7 separate regions of the Homo sapiens genome follow, and all the other regions are linked to region 1. Evidence: promoter capture Hi-C in 16 types of primary human blood cells and fetal thymus (Javierre and others, 2016). All regions are on one chromosome and are shown on one strand. Each heading gives the region's core, a stretch centred on a gene start or on the middle of the fragment in contact. The rest is flanking DNA. Distances are from core to core; before and after follow the strand shown.

What was found. Contacts are between HindIII fragments. The CHiCAGO score rates a contact against its expected background, and 5 or more counts as called.
Region 2: a fragment that was not itself captured here is called in contact with the fragment with the promoter of CCDC122 in region 1 in 1 of 17 cell types (naive CD4 T cells); the score reaches 5.2 in naive CD4 T cells.
Region 3: a fragment that was not itself captured here is called in contact with the fragment with the promoter of CCDC122 in region 1 in 4 of 17 cell types (fetal thymus, activated CD4 T cells, naive B cells and 1 more); the score reaches 7.0 in fetal thymus.
Region 4: the fragment with the promoter of DNAJC15 here is called in contact with the fragment with the promoter of CCDC122 in region 1 in 17 of 17 cell types (M2 macrophages, M1 macrophages, monocytes and 14 more); the score reaches 33.7 in M2 macrophages.
Region 5: a fragment that was not itself captured here is called in contact with the fragment with the promoter of CCDC122 in region 1 in 4 of 17 cell types (M1 macrophages, M0 macrophages, monocytes and 1 more); the score reaches 6.9 in M1 macrophages.
Region 6: a contact is called between a fragment that was not itself captured here and the fragment with the promoter of CCDC122 in region 1, in 2 of 17 cell types (monocytes and M1 macrophages). The highest score is 10.3, in monocytes.
Region 7: a fragment that was not itself captured here is called in contact with the fragment with the promoter of CCDC122 in region 1 in 14 of 17 cell types (monocytes, total CD8 T cells, naive CD4 T cells and 11 more); the score reaches 10.8 in monocytes.

Annotation. Positions count from the first base shown.
Region 1 is chr13:43,878,383-43,881,082 of GRCh38, reverse strand. CCDC122 (coiled-coil domain containing 122) reads left to right here and starts at 1,343. Exons shown (of 7, transcript NM_144974.5): 1 at 1,343-1,452. It overlaps LACC1 (laccase domain containing 1), which reads right to left and starts at 1,179. Exons shown (of 7, transcript NM_153218.4): 1 at 964-1,179; 2 at 1-131. The coding sequence starts at 97. RefSeq lists a silencer at 1,292-1,441. The HindIII fragment of the contact is 5,095 bases long and covers 1-2,700 here.
Region 2 is chr13:44,456,149-44,458,848 of GRCh38, reverse strand. All of the region lies in intron 1 of TSC22D1 (TSC22 domain family member 1), which reads left to right. All of the region lies in intron 3 of LOC124903167 (a long non-coding RNA gene), which reads right to left. Among named protein-coding and RNA genes, the nearest start is that of TUSC8, 52 kb to the right of the region's middle. The HindIII fragment of the contact is 212 bases long and covers 1,247-1,458 here.
Region 3 is chr13:44,479,046-44,481,745 of GRCh38, reverse strand. The region is part of intron 1 of TSC22D1 (TSC22 domain family member 1); the gene reads left to right. Among named protein-coding and RNA genes, the nearest start is that of TUSC8, 74 kb to the right of the region's middle. The HindIII fragment of the contact is 1,069 bases long and covers 892-1,960 here.
Region 4 is chr13:43,022,269-43,024,968 of GRCh38, reverse strand. It overlaps DNAJC15 (DnaJ heat shock protein family (Hsp40) member C15), which reads right to left and starts at 1,383. Exons shown (of 6, transcript NM_013238.3): 1 at 1,235-1,383. The coding sequence starts at 1,342. RefSeq lists enhancers at 885-934, 1,445-1,494, 1,505-1,564. The HindIII fragment of the contact is 4,162 bases long and covers 1-2,193 here.
Region 5 is chr13:42,986,742-42,989,441 of GRCh38, reverse strand. All of the region lies in intron 1 of EPSTI1 (epithelial stromal interaction 1), which reads left to right. Among named protein-coding and RNA genes, the nearest start is that of EPSTI1, 4.1 kb to the left of the region's middle. The HindIII fragment of the contact is 554 bases long and covers 1,139-1,692 here.
Region 6 is chr13:43,043,033-43,045,732 of GRCh38, reverse strand. All of the region lies in intron 1 of DNAJC15 (DnaJ heat shock protein family (Hsp40) member C15), which reads right to left. Among named protein-coding and RNA genes, the nearest start is that of DNAJC15, 21 kb to the right of the region's middle. RefSeq lists an enhancer at 86-135. The HindIII fragment of the contact is 1,863 bases long and covers 457-2,319 here.
Region 7 is chr13:42,967,133-42,969,832 of GRCh38, reverse strand. EPSTI1 (epithelial stromal interaction 1) reads left to right here. Exons shown (of 11, transcript NM_033255.5): 3 at 656-739. Among named protein-coding and RNA genes, the nearest start is that of EPSTI1, 24 kb to the left of the region's middle. The HindIII fragment of the contact is 719 bases long and covers 1,037-1,755 here.

The DNA.
Region 1 (2,700 bases), core at 94-2,593:
ATTGGACAGCATTCAAAGTCTTCAGTAATGTCTGATGGCAGTTTTTTTGAGAGTTCAATTTCAAACCAAAAAGATCAATCAAAACAGCTTCTGCCATCCTTGAAAGAATACTTTTATGCCAAATAAATCACCTGCAAATAAAAATTAGTGTAAGAATATAAGATTATATAAATCTTATAGTTACAACAGAAATTTGTGGTAGATTAAAAACGAAGTAATTACACTGATTTTAAAATGTAACTAAAATAGTAAATCTAGGCCCCTCCCAGAAAAGCCAGTCTACTCTGTCACAACAGAACCATGACAGTGAAAGCAAAGCCATCTTTTAATTCGTTTTGTGAAAATGCTGGTACATCTTTCCAGCAGCACGACAGTTCCTCTGTTTTGTTTACACAGAACTTTTGAGTAAGGAATTACTTGTGGAGTTTAGACAAAGTCCTGTTTTTAAATTGCAGAGTGTCAACCTGTGTGATATATCATTAGTCCTGACATGATTGTCATATTAGGTCTCATCCTTTCATATGCGGGGGCTTAAGTTTACGAAGCTAAATGGAGCTGCACGCGAAATTCGCGTTTTAAGATGATAAAAGCTGAGATGGCTAATAGAGTTCCCTTCAGGATTTGCGCAGTACTCCACACTTAGCAATGACCACAAAAGCTATAGTGATTTGGATGAGACAGGCTTCCTCTCAACTTTCTTAATTCATTCTCCCCGTGCAGCTTTGCTCACCTCCAGCCCAGCCCTCCCACCCCAACCTGCGGGGCTCCGGTGACCCCCTTTGGTGACGCCCTTTGCCCCAAGAAGGTTTTCTCCTGCCGCTTCCCCTAACCTTTGCTCCCCATCTCTCGGGGCTCCCTCTGAGGTTCATTTAGCCAGTTTTGAGTGGGTGACCGTCCCCCCTTCCCTGTTCATTGTGAATTTCCGCCCAACGTGTGTCGCCGCCAGGTCCCTGTTCCTCCTACCCGCCTCGGCTCACGGGGCGCAGGCTGTGGCTCTGCACCTGCCCGGGCACCTCCACCGGCGGCTCACAGCCCATTCGGGACTTCCTGTCGGACAACGCACACCAGAGGCGATTCGGTCCTCGCCTTCCCGCTCTTCACCTTCGGTTGCACACCGGTCTACGGCGACCTCTGTGACAATTTGCCGCCCCGTCCCTCGTCCTGAGCCTCAACGAAATTGGGCAGCCGCGAGCGGGTCAGCTGGAGTCGTAAGCTCGGCCCAGCGCGACGACACCCGCCCCGCCTCACCTCGCCCACCTCGCCCACCTCGCCCCGCCTCGCCTCGCCCCGCCTCGCCCCGCCTCACCTCGCCCCCCTCGCCCACCTCGCCCCGCCTCACCTCACCTACCTCGCCGCGGCCGCACAGATTCCCCGCCTGATACCGTCCCAGGATCCCAGGGGAAACCTGACGGCCAGGTTCCCTCGTGCCAGCTGCCGGGAGGCGGGAGGGAGGTAGGCCAGGGCCGCCTGGCGTGCTTGGTGCGAACGCGGCGGGCCCAGCGCGAGAGCTGGGGAATCCCGGGATGAGCCAAGCGCCGCGAGCCCGCTGCTGCCTCAGCAGTTCCGGGTCTGGGCGGTCCGCGGAGTCGGCATCCCGCAGCCCCGGCGGCGTTAGAGGAACAGGAACCAGAGCCGCGCGAGGGCTCTCGCCCGGGAGCCAGGCGGGTTAGCGGGCAGGAGTGGGCAGGCCGAGTCCGGAAAGGGTCGCGAGGAGGCAGCTAGGGGCCCCTTGAGGAGGGATAGGGCGGCGGAACGACGGGCCCTGGGAGCGGGCGCAGGGCGGCAGGAGCTGCAGGTCTCCAGAGGGCACGGGGCGGGGAACTAGGGGCCCGGTTAGAAAGCCGGGCGGCGGGAACGGCGGGCACCGTGAGGGGGCGGCGGGAATGGTGGGTCGCGTGAGGCCGGGCTGCTGGAGCGACCTCGGGACTAAACCGCAGTCTCCCTTCTGCTAATGGAAGCCGTTTCCCAAGCGAGCTGAAGTCCGCGTTTCCGGTCTCTGAGGGACGCCTCGCTGACCCAGCAGTGTGGTCAGGACGCTGGGTTTCCTCACCGCAGCCCAGGGCCAGTCCCTTGTCATGCTAGCTCTTGGCAGCTTTTCCCATGCAGGGCTCAAGTCAGGGGCCCCCTCGAGATGTTTTAGTGTTTTTTTGTTGTTCATTTGTTTCCAGAAACAAGCTGTTGTCTCTCCTCCAATGTCTTTGTGCTGATTCTTGCTGACCAACACTCTTCCGAGCGCCTTCACTTGTGTTGACAACACGGATGTCCTCTATGGCCTTTTAAAATATGTGCCACTAGCAGGACTTAAGTAAAAGGCGCTCATCCCTAAAATCATGATAAAGGTGCAGTTTAGCATCCCTGATCTGTCCTCCAAGAATATAACGTTCATTTATTTGAAAATAGCAGTTAGGACATGGAAGGCCAGTGTATGGTAAAGGGAAAAAATATCCGACCTTCCAAGAGTAAGAGAAATGGTGCTTCCTGGGGAACTGGTTATGATGGAAGGAGAGGTCCCTTTTATCTTCATTGTTGCTCATTTGGTAGGCGCTAAAGAACCTTTGTCTCATAATCTCAGATAGCTGGGAATTTGGAAGAGCCCTCTGGGGTAGGCATGTTCTTGTGCTTGACTAGAGACTGGGAGCACTAACCCAGAATGGAAACCCACCCTTCAATAACCCTAGCACCAGTTATGTCAAAATTCAT
Region 2 (2,700 bases), core at 103-2,602, 580 kb before region 1:
GGTGCCCAAGGTCCAGAGGGGGCCGAGGCAGAGTAGGGGTGGCTGGCATGTCAGCTGCTGCCCCGAGCGCACACACACACCTGGTCGGACAGCGCCCAGGCTTGGCCATAACTTTGCTGCAAAATCAGAGCGGGCACTGGGAGTGGGGAGAGACCAGAGAGCAGGATCGGGCCCTTCCAAGCCTGTGGGGGAAGTGGGGCTTCCTGGGTCCCCGAGAGCACAGGGATGCCCAGGTCTGGAGGTACGGCTGGGCAGCTGCAGCTGTGCCTGGGAGTGCAGGCTTCTGTCCTGCTAACTTGGTAGGGGGTGGGGCTCCCGCCTGTTCCTGGCCCTTGCTGTCTCTCTGGAGCCTGCAATGCCCGCCGCGCCTCCCCAGCTGCAGCCAGCGTCTTTGCAGTGGCTGCTCTAGATGGGCTGCTGTTGCCATCATTATGAAATATGTATTATCACTTCCATTTTACTATGAATAAGTGATTTTTGGAAATTTGAATTAGGCTCTAACTCCAGTGCTCAAAATCTGACTCTTTAAAAAGCTGCACTAAAGTCAGTACTGATGAAGATGTTTTATAATTGCATTTATGGACTTAAATGGCTAAAACAACATCATAGATGCTTTCAAAGGTTGTTTGGAAATGATGCTTTAGTTGGAATTAAAAAGGAAAAGGATCATACTATTAAGAGAACATTAAGAATTTTTGCTGATAGAATCACAGTGAGAAATTAGGAGGATCAGATTTGATAGAATATAGTGACTGGAAAGGCTTCAAAGATTTCACCTATCTGTTTCAAAAGTGAAAGTAGATCCTAGAACTTGTTCTACTTTTATATGAGCAGACTTTGAAATCCTTGGAAACTTAGTTTTCTAATTCTGTCCAAGAATATGAAACAGTGTCAGTTGACAGATCTGATGTATGTGTAATAGATAACTATTTCATCAGAATTGAAAGTTTGACCCAATATATAGCCACCTTCTTCAGTTAGCTTCTGTATCACTGCTGGAAATTCTTTTTGCAGTTTTCTTAGGTGAGCTCTCTGCTTCACCCTACAACCGAAGGCTTTGGAAATCATAGAGATTTTTGAAACTACTAAACCAGCCACTGCTAGCACAAAAGGAGCAAATTCTGCAGGATTTAGCGATTTCCTTTTTATATAAATAGTGCTTTCTCTTTGATTCTGAGAAAAAGTATTCCTTTTTTTTTTTTTTTTTTTTTGCTATTTGCTTTTCAGTACATATATTCAACAAGCTTTCTTTTTCTTCTGTTTCTTTAGGGGTTGCTCTTTTTGCAGCCCTTGAAATTGCTTTACCAATAGGCGTTTCTTTTATTTCCATGCGTTGTTTGTGAAGGCCCACAACATGAATTTTATTTCTGTTGCTTGGGAGATACCACATGTTCTCATCACATATTCTCTCATTTCTTTCAAAATGCCTTATTTCTGGCTTCTCAATATTTAAAAGCTTTTCTTTTGTGCATGCTGCTTGATGTTTTTGATCCAGTGTGATTAGACATATTTGAGATGTTGAATGCGTGTTTTTATATAGAAAAGTTATCCTTTGCGAAAGAATAGCAAAACATAATTTTGCAGAGTAACAAACGTGCCGAACTGAGGTAGCTGTTACATGTTTGAGATATGTGCTGTTTGCGTTTTCCTAGGTGCAGTTTTGGTTCAGCTGGGTGCAGTTTCCTGCGTTCACCTGATGTTTCTCACAAACAAAATCACACATAAGCAAATGTGAAATGTGCATTACGCTCAAATTGTTCTCTAACATATGAATTGTGTTGGAACAAATTGGTGTTTTCCAAACAAGTTTTATAATGGAACAGATTGTACTTGATAGGCTCTGTTAATTTTAAAAAGCCTGATCTGTAGTTCTAGGAAGTTTTCTTGAATTATTTTATGACACTTTTCTCCTGTCCATATTGCACATTTCTGAAACTTCTTTTGTTAGGGTGTTAGCCCTTCTAAATATTAATAGCTGTTATTTATTTTCTTTCCTGTATTAACCTTTTTGGTATTTTGTTCTAGTTTCTGAGATAGTTCTTCAACTTTACTTTCTATTCTAGCACATTTTCACTTATGCTCTCATATCAATTTTTCAGTTTCCAAGAGCTCTTTCTAGTGTTCTGAATGTTGTCCTCCTCTTATTTTATCCATGTAATCTTTTAGGATTTTACAAGTTTCTTCAGTTCCCTACACTGTCTCTGTTTCCTCTAGGTTCCTTTTGACTGAGTGTTGGCTATACTAGAGAATTGTTAGTCATTGTGAAAGGTGAAGCCGGCTGGGCTTCTGGGTCGGGTGGGGACTTGGAGAACTTTTCTGTCTAGGTAAAGGATTGGAAACGCACCAATCAGTGCTCTGTGTCTAGCTAAAGGTTTGTAAACGCACCAATCAGCACTCTGTAAAAATGGACCAATCAGCGCTCTGTGTCTAGCTAAAGGTTTGTAAACGCACCAATCAGCACTCTGTAAAAACAGACCAATCGGTACTCTGTAAAATGGACCAATCAGTGCTCTGTAAAATGGACCAATCAGCAGGATGTGGGCAGGGCCAAATAAGGGAATAAAAGCTGGCTACTCCAGCCAGCAGCAGCAACCCGCTCGGGTCTTCTTCTCCGCCGTGGAAGCTTTGTTGTTTTACTGTTAGCGATAAATCTTGCTGCTGCTCACTTTTTGGGTCTGCACTACCTTTATGAGCTGAGCT
Region 3 (2,700 bases), core at 177-2,676, 600 kb before region 1:
ACTTGTGGATTATTAGAAGTATTTGTTGATTTCATGTTATCTGCCAGCATCATGGACCACGACTGTAGATATATCCAGCCTTCAGGGTGGGTGGAGTTAGGTGGGCTCTGTTGGTAAATGATCAGCACCGAGTATTGTTCCTGAGCATAGTAGATGCTTGTAAATATTTGAATGAACAAATGAAAGTGTCTGTATCACAGTTATTACACTGACTGAGGCTAGTGTTCTCATCACACGCTAATTTAAATTTCTATGTCAAATGGTAAATAGCTCATTCCTTCCTGTGTTCTCTGGGACTTTGCTTTATCAGGATATATCATCTCTTGTTTAATCTTTTCCACTTTATTGACAACCTAAGTGAACCAGAACCACCCACCCCTCACCAGTTACCTGTCTTCCTCATTTTACCCATTCATCTACACTGCTGTGGTGTGGCTGTTCCTTTTTCCTTACCACCTCCCACCCCAAGCTTTTTCTGCAGATGTCACCAATGACTTCCTAACTGCGAAGTCTCAAGCCCCGAGGATCCCATTTCCATCCTTCTTGTCTCATTTGATCTCTCTGTATCTTTGGCATTGCTGCCTGTTACTTCCTGAAGTTCTCCTCTGTTGGCTCCAGTGCACCAGTCTCTTCTGGTTCTCCTTCTGTCTCTTGGCCTTCTCCTTTTCAGTCTCATTTACTATTTGTTTGGCTTCTCTCCCCAGCTCTCTTAAACGTTGGTGTTTCCCTAGGTTCTGTTGCTTGGCCTCCCTTCTTTTTATAGTAGGTTTTCTTTGTACTCCAGCGACCCAATTTATCTGTGGAACCCAATTCAGCCGCTCATAACACAAGGGGAAGAGGGTGTAGGCAGCAGCCCCCCATAATCTCTATGACCTGTTACACATGAAAGCTTCACTGAGTAAGCATACAATCTATGTAAAACAACCAAAAAACAAACATTTATGTAAAAGGAGTGTGGTTAGTATGGAAACTTGGCCTCAAGAAGTGTCTCCTAACCCCTGTCCCTGGACTCCTTTGTAGAAATTCTAGAGTTGTCTGGAGTGTCTTCAATTTCCCTGTGAACATATCTACTTGGATGTCTCCTCCAAACAGCCTCTTATTTATTCCTGTTTTCACATAATCCACCCCTCCTGTATTCTCTCACAGCTACTAGTACCAACATGTACTCTACCTTAAGCCCAAACCCTGCATCATCCTAAATTCTACTTTATTCTCAACAGCTGGTCCTGGGATCGCTGCTGCCTTCATCTCTCATCTGTGAGAGAATTTCCTATATTATAATTATTTGATTCATGTCTATTTCTTTCATTAGAATCTTTATGTCCCAGGCACCTACAATTTTTATAGTATTAAGTGTTCAACTAATACTTTTATATGTAAAAATGAATTTATCAGCAATCACTAATTCCCAAGGAATTAATAGCATTACCCTGTTGTCTTAAAAAAATGCCAAAACCATAAGAAAATTGATTTTCCAATCTTAATTTTTTAATGTTAATGAATGTTAAATTCATGCTATATTAAAATGAAATACTTTTAAGATCTTTGTCTTTTACAGTTGCTCAATTTAAAGGAAAGTTTTTTCAGGTGCTGTTGATAACATTTTGGAACTTGTACACATCTTATACATTCAATTTAAAAAAAAGATCCAAACTTATCAGTCTTGTTATTAACACTATTTTTCAAATTTAATATTTCTCAGTATTTATTCATTGAATGCTCTCAAATGGTGGCTTAATAGTTTCATGTTTGTTAAATACAGAGCTGTGTCTTCCATCTGCTATTTTTGAAATAAAATTTTCATACAGCAGTCCTTGATAGGGCCAGCCTAGAATCATAGACTTTTTCCATTTTAGTCCTAAATAAATAATAGGATGGCATGCTGTAGATTCTGAATAGTAACAACTTATTTACCTGATTTTTCATTGGTTTGAGTATTTGATACACAGAAATTGAAGCTTAAACTTTTATCTAATCTTGTTTTAACCTTCTGAGAAGACTGTGTGTCCTTAGTGACTCAGATTTAGCATACAGGTGATGAGTTGTCTCATTTGGTGGCCAGTACTTACTTTTTGTCTTATTAGGTTGAAAGCTATCTCTTCTTGAGAATGCTGGTGTATGTGGCTGGTAACAGCTTGCCATTTTTGTTTAGTTGCTTTTACTTTCCTGAAACCCAGGAAGCCAGATAATTAAGTTTTAAGGATTATACGATATACAAGTCAATAATTTTCTAACAAGATCTTAAAAGCACAGTATATTGCTTTGGTACAGTGGCTTTATGAGAGCTTTTTGAACTGTTTAGAGTAGGGGTGTCCAATCTTTTGGTTTCCCTGGGCCACGCTGGAAGAAGAATTGTCTTGGGCCGCACGTAAAATACACTAACACTAATGATAGCTGGTGAGCTAAAAAAAAAAAAAAAAAAATCACAGAAAGATCTCATACTGTTTTAAGAAAGTTCACGAGTTAGGCCGCATTCAAAGCTGTCCTGGGCCATGCCCGTGGGTTGGGCAAGCTTGGTGTAGAGGTTGGTTTTCATTCTTCAAGTTTCTAGACTGTGTGCTAAAGGTTAGGGTTGCTGATTCTAGATACACAGATGCATTTTCCATTCATAGATAACCTAGTTCTGGTGTTTTTTAGTATCAGTCACTCTTGTGTAGTTTATTTCATTGGATCTGCTCCTAGGGCCATCTAGGACCAAGT
Region 4 (2,700 bases), core at 134-2,633, 860 kb after region 1:
CCGACCCAGCCTCCCAAGCAGCTAGGACTACAGGCTCACACCACCACACCCAGCTAATTTTTTTTTTTTTTTTTTAGCAGAGATGGGGTCTCCTGTGTTGCCCAGGCTGTCCTCCAAACTCATGGCCTCAAGTGATCCTCCTGCCTGGGCTTCCTAAAGCGCTGGGATTACAAGCCTAAACCACCACTTGGGCAATATTTCATATTGAATGTTGAAAATTACCATGCAACTGTGCATATATCAGGTTAAAGAAAATACATGGTTAAAATCAAACCCACCTGTTTCTCTTCAGTTGTTTAATATGGCTACAAAAAACTTAAAAATATGCCGGACGCGGTGGCTCACGCCTGTAATCCCAGCACTTTGGGAGGCCGAGGCGGGCGGATCACGAGGTAAGCAGATCGAGACCATCCTGGCTAACACGGTGAAACCCCCGTCTCTACTAAAAATACAAAAAATTAGCCGGGAGTGGTGGCAGGCGCCTGTAGTCCCAGCTACTTGGGAGGCTGAGGCAGGAGAATGGCCTGAAACCGGGAGGCGGAGCTTGCAGTGAGCCGAGATCGCGCCACTGCACTCCAGCCTGGGCGACAGAGCGAGACTCCGTCTCAAAAAAAAAAAAAAAAAAAAAAAACGTAAAAATACGTATGTGGCTCACAATATGCTTCTGTTGGACAGTTTTCTGTTAGACCCTTCCTTTTTCCAGCTCTACAGTTCATCCTGAATACACCACTTGGAGTTTCCAACTGGGCCCTGTTTCTGTGCCGGAGACTTTGGAGACAGTAGTCCTGGTACCCGAAACACTTTTTCCCCTTCTCCTTGCTGAATGGACTGTTTTTATTCATTCAGATCTTAATTTTTAACTACAGCTTTCTCCAAGAAGCGTCCCTGATCCCACCACGTCCCCTGCAAGACGTTTTTAGGGCCTCCTATGAGATAGGAAAATCCACATACAGCACTTATTTTACTGTATTTGCAATTGCCTGTTTTCTGGTTTGTGTCCCAGACAAGACTGGAAGCTCCTTGAGGAGACAGATCCTCAGAACTGCTCCGTCTTCCACGCCCAGGCGTCAAAGCCCAGCACAAAGCGGTCTCTCCACTGAACAAGTGAGCGCTAGGGCACAGACCGTGAGCGAATGCGGGGGAGTACAAAGGTTCAAGGGTGAGGCGGTAGAGGGGGCTGAAGCAGAAACTACAAGGGAGCCAGAGAGGGGTGGGGGCCGCTGGCAGGACTCACCAGTCTCTGCTGGTCGACGTCGGCGTCTGGCCGTTTGGCCGAGGGCTGCAAGTACTCAGCGTAGCGCAAACTCTCGCCAACTGGAGCGATGACACCACGGGCAGCCATGGCAAGGCGGCCCGGAGACTCAAGGCGCCGCGGCAGTGACTACGAGGCGGCCGTAGGGACAAACTAGTTAGCGCGGTTTCTTCTCGCAGATCCAGTGGACTCTGCGCTCGTTGTGCTATTAAAGGCGAGGTTCCCGGAAGATACCCTTCTCACCCGAGCTGGGTAACGTGTCCCGTGCAAGCACGGGGTCACACTCCGAAAGGAGCCAAGGGCACTGGGACGTTCTTGAATCACACTCACAGGCGCAAAGCCAACGCGGACCCTCAGGGAGCTTTATATACTTGGGCCTGGTCCCTCCCCAGGCCGCCGTAAGGGACTGGGCTTAAGCCCTGCGAACTGATGTTGGTCGAATCAGATGACTGCCCAGTAAGCTCGGAGTCTAGCTGTAGTGCCTGAGGGTGGGCTTGCCTGAGCTTTCCTGACCCCCTTCCGGGCAGCCTTTCTTCCCACTCTCAACTTCTGTTCGCACTTCTGTTTAATGCCACAGTTCTACCACCCCGGGAGAGAAATTAAAGAGGCAATTTGCTTACTCCACCCCCAAGTAAATGGCTGTATTTAAGGTGAAATTACACAGAAGAAAGTTGTGGCCGGGTGCGGTGGCTCACGCTGTAATCCCAGCACTTTGGGAGACCGAGGCGGGTGGATCACACCAGCTTGGCCGACATGGTGAAACCTCGTCTCTACTAAAAATACAAAGATTAGCTGGGTGTGGTGGTGCGTCCCTGTAATCCCAGCTACTCAGGAGCCTGAGGCAGGGGAAAAAAAGTTGTGAGCAAGTAGGTAAATCTTACTCTCCCTCAAATGAGTTTGTGCTGATTTGTATATATAAAAGCCCATTTTATTATTAAGCTTTTTTTTTTTTTTGAGATGGAGTCTCGCTCTGTTGCCCAGGCTGAGTGCAGTGGCGCAATCTCTGGCTCACTGCACCCTCTGCCTCCCGAGTACCTGGGATTAAAGGCACGTGCCACCACACCTGGCTAATTTGTGTATTTTTAGTAGAGACGAGGTTTCACCATGTTGGCCAGGCTGGTCTCAAACTCCTGACCTCAGGTGATCCGCCCGCTTCAGCCTCCCAAAGTGCTGAGATTACAGGCGTGAGTCACCGCGCCTGGCCTCCATCAAGTTTTTAGAGCAAAAATTAACCAGCAGTTGAAGCGTATGGTGTTTTCCAACTTCTGTACCAACGTGGCAGCTCTTTGGCTCCTTATACCCTTTGCAAAATCAGCTGACAGGAAGAAAAAGCTTTATTTTTTTTCTATTCCTGAATTTAAAGTTTTGAGGGTCTATTAATTTGTTCACTTAGTTAATATTATTAGCATGTCTAAGAAGTTAGGTCCTAGAAATTTACAATCTTGTAG
Region 5 (2,700 bases), core at 166-2,665, 890 kb after region 1:
CCAGTGTGGGGATTAGGAATATGGGCTCTGATGCTGGGTAGACCTGGGTTCAAGTTCTGATTATGCCATCACTTGCTCTTTGAACAAAATCCTTAGCTACTTTATGCCTCAGTTTCCTCATTACTTAATATAAGACAATACCAACTTCATAGGGTTTTAATTTTTCCACGTGTATATGTGTAAAACATAACTTTATTCCTGGTAAAGTACTATGCTGTCACCCTTAAGTCGAATGTTTGTGCCTTGTTAAAAAAAAACACTGGTTTAAAACACCTACTTGTGGTCGGGCGCAGGGGCTTGTGCCTGTAACCTCAGCACTTTGGAAAGCCAATGTGGGAGGATTGCTTTAGTCCAGGAGTAACATAGGGAGTCCCTTGTCTCTCCAAAAAAAAAAAAAAAAAAAAAAAAATTTAAATTATCTGGGCACGGTGGCACATACCTCTGTCCCAGCTACTCAAGAGGCTGAGGCAGGAGGATAGCTTGAGCTCAGGAGCTCCAAGACTACAGTGAGCTGTGATTGTACCACTGTACTCCAGCCTGGGCAACAGAGTGAGACCCTGTCTCAAATAAATAAATAAATAAATAAATAAACCACCTATTTGCATAGAAAGAAAGTATACTAGTAAAAATCTGTGGCTATCAATATATTAAATTATTCTGAGTACCTCTGATAGACTCTCAGACAAGATTGAGTTCTTTTTTTTTTTTTTTGAGACAGAGTCTCGCTCTGTCGCTCAGGCTGGAGTGCAACAGCGCAATCTCAGCTCACCACAACCTCTGCCTCCCGTGTTCAAGCGACTCCTCTGCCTCAGCCTCCTGAGCAGCTGGTACCACAGGCACATGCCACCATGCCTGGCTAATTTTCGTATTTTTAGTAGAGACGGGGTTTCGCCACATTGGCCAGGCCGGTCTCAAACTCCTGACCTTGTGATCTGCCTGCCTCGGCCTCCCAAAGTGCTGGGATTACAGGCGTGAGCCACCGCGCCTGGCCAAGATTGAGTTCTTGATGGAATTTGGATTTAAGTTATTATAAGTATTTACTAATTCATACTGGCTTTCCCAATTATTTTTACTTGGTGATTTTTGTCTTGTCCTTAAATATCAAAGCTGTCTACACAAATTAAAAGAGAAAAAAGCTTACACAAACTTCTAATCCAAAGTAAACCTTTATCCTTCCTTTTAATATTCTGCTTGTTTGTAAATATTTTACATTATTTATATCACCTCTAGATAAATATAAGACAAAGACATGCATTTACCTAGTTTTATCCAATTCTGGGAAATGGGGTCTTGCCTGTGCTGGTAATATAGGGTTGAATTCACATTCATGTACTTGTCTAACCATACCTGGTCCTTTAGCTTGATGCTGTTTGAAGAAAATAAAAATATATTTTGAAAATGAACCTATAATATGGAATTTTATTTTACAGTTAACTTGAGCTGAATTTGTATGTAAATTATGTTAATCTTAACATTTTTGTGGCCTACTTCGTATTAGTATTGTAGAGACTTCAACATGAGCAATAATAATAATAGCACTTACGTAGTAGCTAGTATGTAAATGCACACTATGTATACTAACTCTTTCAATCCTCATAACCACCATGGAATGAGAGGATCTCTAGCTTAAAAGAACTAATTAAAAACTAGGAACAAATAACTATTCAACACAAAATAAGCCCTTATGAAGCTTACTGTCTAATTGATGGGACAGACATTTATTAATATGTGAACAAATATGTATACTTTAAAGCAGGGGTATCCAATCTTTTGGCTTCCTGGGGCCACATGGGAAGAAGAATCGTCTTGGCCCCACACAAAATACACTAACACTAATCATAGTGGATGAGCTTAAAAAAAAAATCGCAAAAAAACCTCAATGTTTTAAGAAAGTTTATGAATTTGTGTTGGGCCACATTCAAAGCCATCCTGAGCCACCTGGGCTACATGCACCTTGTGGGCCCTGGGCTGGACAAGCTTGCAAGGAAAGCTGGGGTCTCAGCTGGTCTTGGGAGCAGGAAGATCTTTCCTTAGAGGTGACGTTTGAGCTTTGGTCTACAGGATCATTAGGAGTTGTGTGGTTTTTTTTTTCCTGACATCAAATATGTCATTCTAACACCAACTAACTGTGACCCCAACTAGGTGTCCCACAGTTCAATTCTAACACTAACTACTCAGAGTTAGTGTGGACCCCACAAATTAAGGGCTCAGTCCCACAAAACTGCCCCCCACTTCAGACTTCAGACACTAGCTGCAAATGGAGTCTCCAGGCTACCTGTATGTCTACCCACCAGACTACAAAGTTGGGGGTTCCCATGCATCTCCCCTTCCCCAGTTTTGATAATTCATTAGAGTGACTCACAAAACTCGCAGAAATTACTATATTTATGATTACAGGTTTATCATAAAGGATACAACTCAGTCAAGTGGAAGAGATGCGTAAGGCATCTTTTGGGAGATGAAGGGGTAGGTGGTGGGGTGTGAAGAGTTTCCATACTCTAGGTAGATACTTTGATGTGTTCGCCAACCTGGAAGACCCCCAAACCTTATAGTTCAAGAACTTTTATTGAGGCTTTATTACCTAGGCATAATTGATTAAATCAGTGGCCATTGGTGATTAAATCTCCAGCCCCCGCCTCTCCCCAGAAACTGAGATGGGGCTGCAAGTTGTTTTTTTTTTTTTTTTTTTTTTTTTTTGAG
Region 6 (2,700 bases), core at 139-2,638, 840 kb after region 1:
GTTTTAAGAAAAAAACAAGGAAGTGAAATCAAAGACAGGCAGCCTGGCCCCAGGCCCAAAACCACGCCCGAGCCTGCATGGCCTAAACCTAGTAGTTAAAAATCAACTCATGACTTAGAACCCGATGTTACCCATAGATTTCAGGCATTGTATGGAAGAACATTGTGAAACTCCCTGCTCTGTTCTGTTTCACTCTGACTACCAGTGCATGAAACCCCGTCACATATCCCCTAGATTGCTCAATCAATCACAACCCTTTCATATAAAATCTTTAGTGTTGTGTGCCCGTAAAAGGGACGGAAATTGTGCACTCGGGGAGCTTGGATTTTAAGACAGTAGCTTGCCGATGCTCCCAGCTGAATAAAGCCCTTCCTTCTACAACTCGATGTCTGAGAGGTTTTGCCTGCGGCTTGTCCTGCTACAAGAGCAACAAATTTAAAGTGAGTAGGGCAAGCTTCACTGAAAAAAATGACTTTTGGAAAAAAATTAAAGCAAGAAAAAGGATTCCTTAGATTTTGGACTAGCAATGGGAACAAGTGTAAAGTCCCTAAAGCACAGGTGTGCCCAGTGTGCCTAACGAATAGCCAGAAGGCCAGTGTGCATACAGCAGGAAGAGAAAGAGAAAAAAATAGGCAACAAGGTCGAACAGGTCACAAGGGGAGCAGATCATGCTGGGCCTTATATGGTCAACATAAAGACTAGCTTTTCTCCGAGTGATACAGTACATCATTGTTTTGAGCAGAGGCCTAAGATTATTTCAATTAAAATTCTAAGGATCATTCTACTTGTCATGTTGAGAATAGATTGTAGAGGATGAAAAGCAGAGGCATGGGGATGAGTTGTAAGTCTATTAAAATAATCCATGAAAGAGATAATGGTCACTTGGGCTACAGCGATTAATGATGGAAATGAGGAAAGTGGTGAGATACTAGATAGAGTTCGGAGGTAAGGCCAATAGGATTTGCTGAGACACTGGATATGGAGTCAAGGTTTTGAAATGAGAAAATATAATGGACAATGCTAGTTAAACGTAATTAAGAATCTAACATATGGTCATGCTTCAAAATACCCTGGACCAGGTAAATATATCCAAAAGTCTCTCGGAAGACAAAGAAAATAAAGTCTTTGCAACCAAAAGGAACTAAAAGGACCTTTTAGTTGTCTTGAGCAACTAAAAGGAAAAGAGAAGAGTCAAGGTTATTGTCTTGAACAACTAAAAGAATGACACTAACTGCCTTTTGCTGCAAGGACTGTGAGAGGTCTGTGGCAGAGAAAGGGTATGTCATGAACTCTCTTTTGGACTTACTTTCTAACAATATGCCGTGACGAGTATGATAAAGCCTAAGTGAAACAGTATGAGAATTCCTAACACCTAGAGGGTAAATGGAGAGGTCTCATCTACTAATGGAAAAGAAGAATGAGCCAGATGTTTGGAAAACATTCATTCTTTGTTATCTTGCAGTGAGTTAATTCTCAAGGGTTAATCACAAGCAAATCACTTTCTGCTGAACTCAGTGTTTTATGCTGTCTTACTATTAGGTTCAGTCTCCACAAAGAAAACTCTTTGAATTTAAACAACAGCAAGTGGAAAGGAGAAAAAAAGAGAGGAAACAAGAAAGACTGCTGGCAAATCAATATAATTTGGGTAAAAGAGGTATTATACATGCAGATTAGAATAAGGAGGGGAGGAGAATTTACATTCAAGAAAAAGTGTCAGACACAATAAAATGACAATAACGAGAATTTATAAAATTATCCTGCCCTAAAATCTTCAAGCCAATATAAATTTCAGACTTTCATATCTAAATTGAACCAATCTACATTAAGACACCCTACCTTTACCATTATTGTTCCATTGCCAAAAGCAAATACATTTGAACTTCTCCCAAAACACCAATTCCCACGAAACCCTTACATTAAGCAAAAAAGAAAGGCAAAGCTAACTACATTTCTATTTGCTCTGTTTTTAAGTTGCTTAATTTCTCTTAAACCACAGGCAAGCATTAGTATCTACAGCAAGACTAGTGAATAAATAAAAGGGCGAAACAACAAAATCAGAGGCCAAACATGTTAGGAAACAAAACTCTTAGGCTTACCCCAAATGAATGTTACTCCACTCTCCAGCATAATTAAAAACTCCTCAAAGTTAAATCTTCACTATAGATAATGATTTTTTAAGAATAATCTTTTTCACACTGTCAGAAAAGGTCTAGAATAAGTAAATAAATAATAACAAGAATGATCTTTTAAGTACTGTTTTGCATTTACTCAAAATAACAGTGTGAGTCATGGCTCTACTTTCTCATAATATAAGAAGCTTTTGAGGTCAGGCATGGCAGCTCATGCCTGTAATCCCAGCACTTTGGGAGACCAAGGCGGGTAGATCAACTGAGAGTCAGGAGTTCGAGACCAGTCTGGCCAACATGGTGAAACCCCGTCTCTACTAAAAATACAAAAATTAGCTGGGAGTGGTGGCACACGCCTGTAGTCCCAGCTACTGGGGAGGCTGAGGGGGGAGACTCGCTTGAACCCGGGAGACGGAGGTTTGCAGTGAGCCAAGATCATACCACTGGACTCCGGCCTGAGTGACAGAGCCTTTCAAAAAAATAAAAATAAACAAATTTAAAAAGCAGCTTTTTTAAACCAAAATGTGAATAAATGTGACTGGTCAGAAAATCTTGCTCCTGTCATCAACCATGT
Region 7 (2,700 bases), core at 147-2,646, 910 kb after region 1:
GAAACAGGTCTCATGAGGAGATAAGGGGAGGCGCTGGAGTGACAGAACTAATTTCTCTCTGGCGCCCCCTGCTGTCGTGCAGAGTGAACATTTAGGAAATGAGCCCTGCTCCCCAGGAAGCCGACTCTGCACAGTGGTCTGGAGTGCCTGAAACCAGAGCAAGGGTCTCCACCTGTAGCACCGAGCCCTCATTCCCTAGAGTCGCAGTAAGCTTGGGAGCATTGAAGATAAAGCGAGTATGGGCATCAGAATTCTCTGGGGATATGTTTACCTATGTGTGGAAAGTTCTTATTGACGTGAAAATATTCTAGTTTTGCACACATTTTCTATAGGTAACTTTAAAAATTAACTTGATATAGAGTTTTAAAAATGCCAGAATGGTAGGAAAATCTATACTTCTTTTAGTAGGAGCCCAGGTGGTTTTTCAAATTCGAACCCTCTGTGCTGACTCTTGGTGAGAATGTGCCACAGGGCCGGGCCCAGGATGACCTGTACGGGTCAGGGCTGAATATTGTGTTTCTAACCTGGAAGCCTTGTTCACTCATGCTCACATATAGTTAATTGCCTTCTAATAGTTGTTTCTTATGCTTTGAAGGGACTGGTTTTCTTTTAGAAGTCTAATAATTGACGATTTGATATTTCTCGCCTGGCTTAGTTGCGGAGCAGGAGCTGGCCAACCTGGAGAAGTGGAAGGAGCAGAACAGAGCTAAACCGGTTCACCTGGTGCCCAGACGGCTAGGTAAGCAAGCACAGCCGCTGCCGGAATGAGGGAGGGCGGGGCCACCTATGGATCCTGTAAGCAGCTTGCATATGTCTGTCTGTGAATGTCCATTGTAGTTTGTTTGGTCATTGTGCTGCTTGGGTGGAATGCATTTAATTGTGTGTGTGTGTGTGTGTGTGTGTGTGTGTGTATTTTTTTTTTTTTCTGATTTTCTGCAAGTAGCAAACCTGTAATGCCAGAGTTCTATGGGAACACAGTGATGGCTTAATTGCCAAATAATTTAGAGCCTCTTAGATGATTGACTCTGAAAAAGCTTACCTGGGGCGCTGCATATGCCCTGTCATAGCACTAGTCAGGATGGGAGTAAATGCTGGCACAAGCATATTAATCATGGCAGTTAAATGTTAATCTGAAGAAAAGGAGTGGAGAGTCAGTTCCAAGAGGGAGATGAGAGTGAGCTGGAAACCCGGTGGTGGGTATAAGAGAAACATCACCTGTGTTTTTATTCTACAGATAGAGACCTCTGGGCCTCTGGAGCAGGTGCTGCCAGTGTGATGAATTGTCTGGGCCGCCTTTGCCGGTGTTTGAATCATTCAGAAGGGATGCCACCTAATGGGAATCATTCACATCTTTTCTTTGCTTTTTCTCTTCTATCAGCAGCCGAAAATTTAAAGGGTTGGACACACAGTGTCCACAGATTTAGTTAATACAAGCATGTCTTGTGTCAGGGGCCACTTACGGTTGTGATAGTTTTAGAGAAGTTCCCTCCCCACACCCTGCCCCCCCACCAAGAACATAGGTAAAAATAATCTAATTTGGAAATTATTTAATGGGAGGAAGTAATAGTAATATTATCATCATCCCACTGTATTTCGTGAAAAGGGCTAATCTCAAGTGCCTCCTTTGTGCAAATGAGCCAGACTCGAAGGGTACAATCAGAAAACAGCTTTAATCTTTCCTAGCTTGGCCCCTGAGATTGGCTATGTGAGAACAGTCTTTCTCAGGCTTTTTGGATGATGTAAGAAATTAAAGCTTTTTGGTCTCTTTCAAACAGTAGAGTGACCTAGCTAATTCTAGGCCTAAAACAGTCTCATTTCAGTAATTAATGTTCAGTCTTAGGTACTGATCAAAATTCTGTTACTAATGGAGATGAGAGCTTCTCCCCTGCTCTAACCCAGGCCTGTTTCAGGTAGGAATCCAGCAAGTAGAACAGGGTGTGGCTGGACTTTTCTCTATTCATGGCTCTGTTCCCAGATTCTGACCTTTCTGGGATTGAAGGGGGAAGTGGAGGGAGATAAGAGAGTTCGGGGTTCGTAATGCAGTGATCCTTGTTTCTTTGAGCCTAGGTTTACACTGACTGCTCGTTCTTCTTCCTGGGAATCTTCGAGTTTTTCAGCATCCCCCACTCTCTGCTACCCATCTCCCACCTGGATTTCCCTGATACAGACGATTTCCTCTCCTGTCGGCAGGGCTTGGCCTCACTGTTGGCTCTTGGTAGACTCCTTTTAGGGTTCCATTGTTCTTGACATGGCCCTCATAGGCAAGTCCCTTTAGATGGCTTTAGGTTGGCATTCTCTTTCATGAGAATCACATTAAAAGTACAGGAAATACTTGTGCATTCTTTCTTTTCATAAACTGTGAATGTGGGCCATTTGTAATGTAGCTACCTCTTCTTGAGGACTCATCTCAGTGGCCAATGGACAACAGCCTTATACCTTTAGGCTCTAACTGTTCTAGGCATGAATCCAATAAGACCCTCAGACTCTTAAAAATGCAGGTTGAGGTCTCCAGCTGATTTTCTTTTTTTTTTTTTTTTTTTTTTAATTTATTTTTTTATTGATAATTCTTGGGTGTTTCTCACAGAGGGGGATTTGGCAGGGTCATGGGACAATAGTGGAGGGAAGGTCAGCAGATAAACAAGTGAACAAAGGTCTCTGGTTTTCCTAGGCAGAGGACCCTGCGGCCTTCCGCAGTGTTTG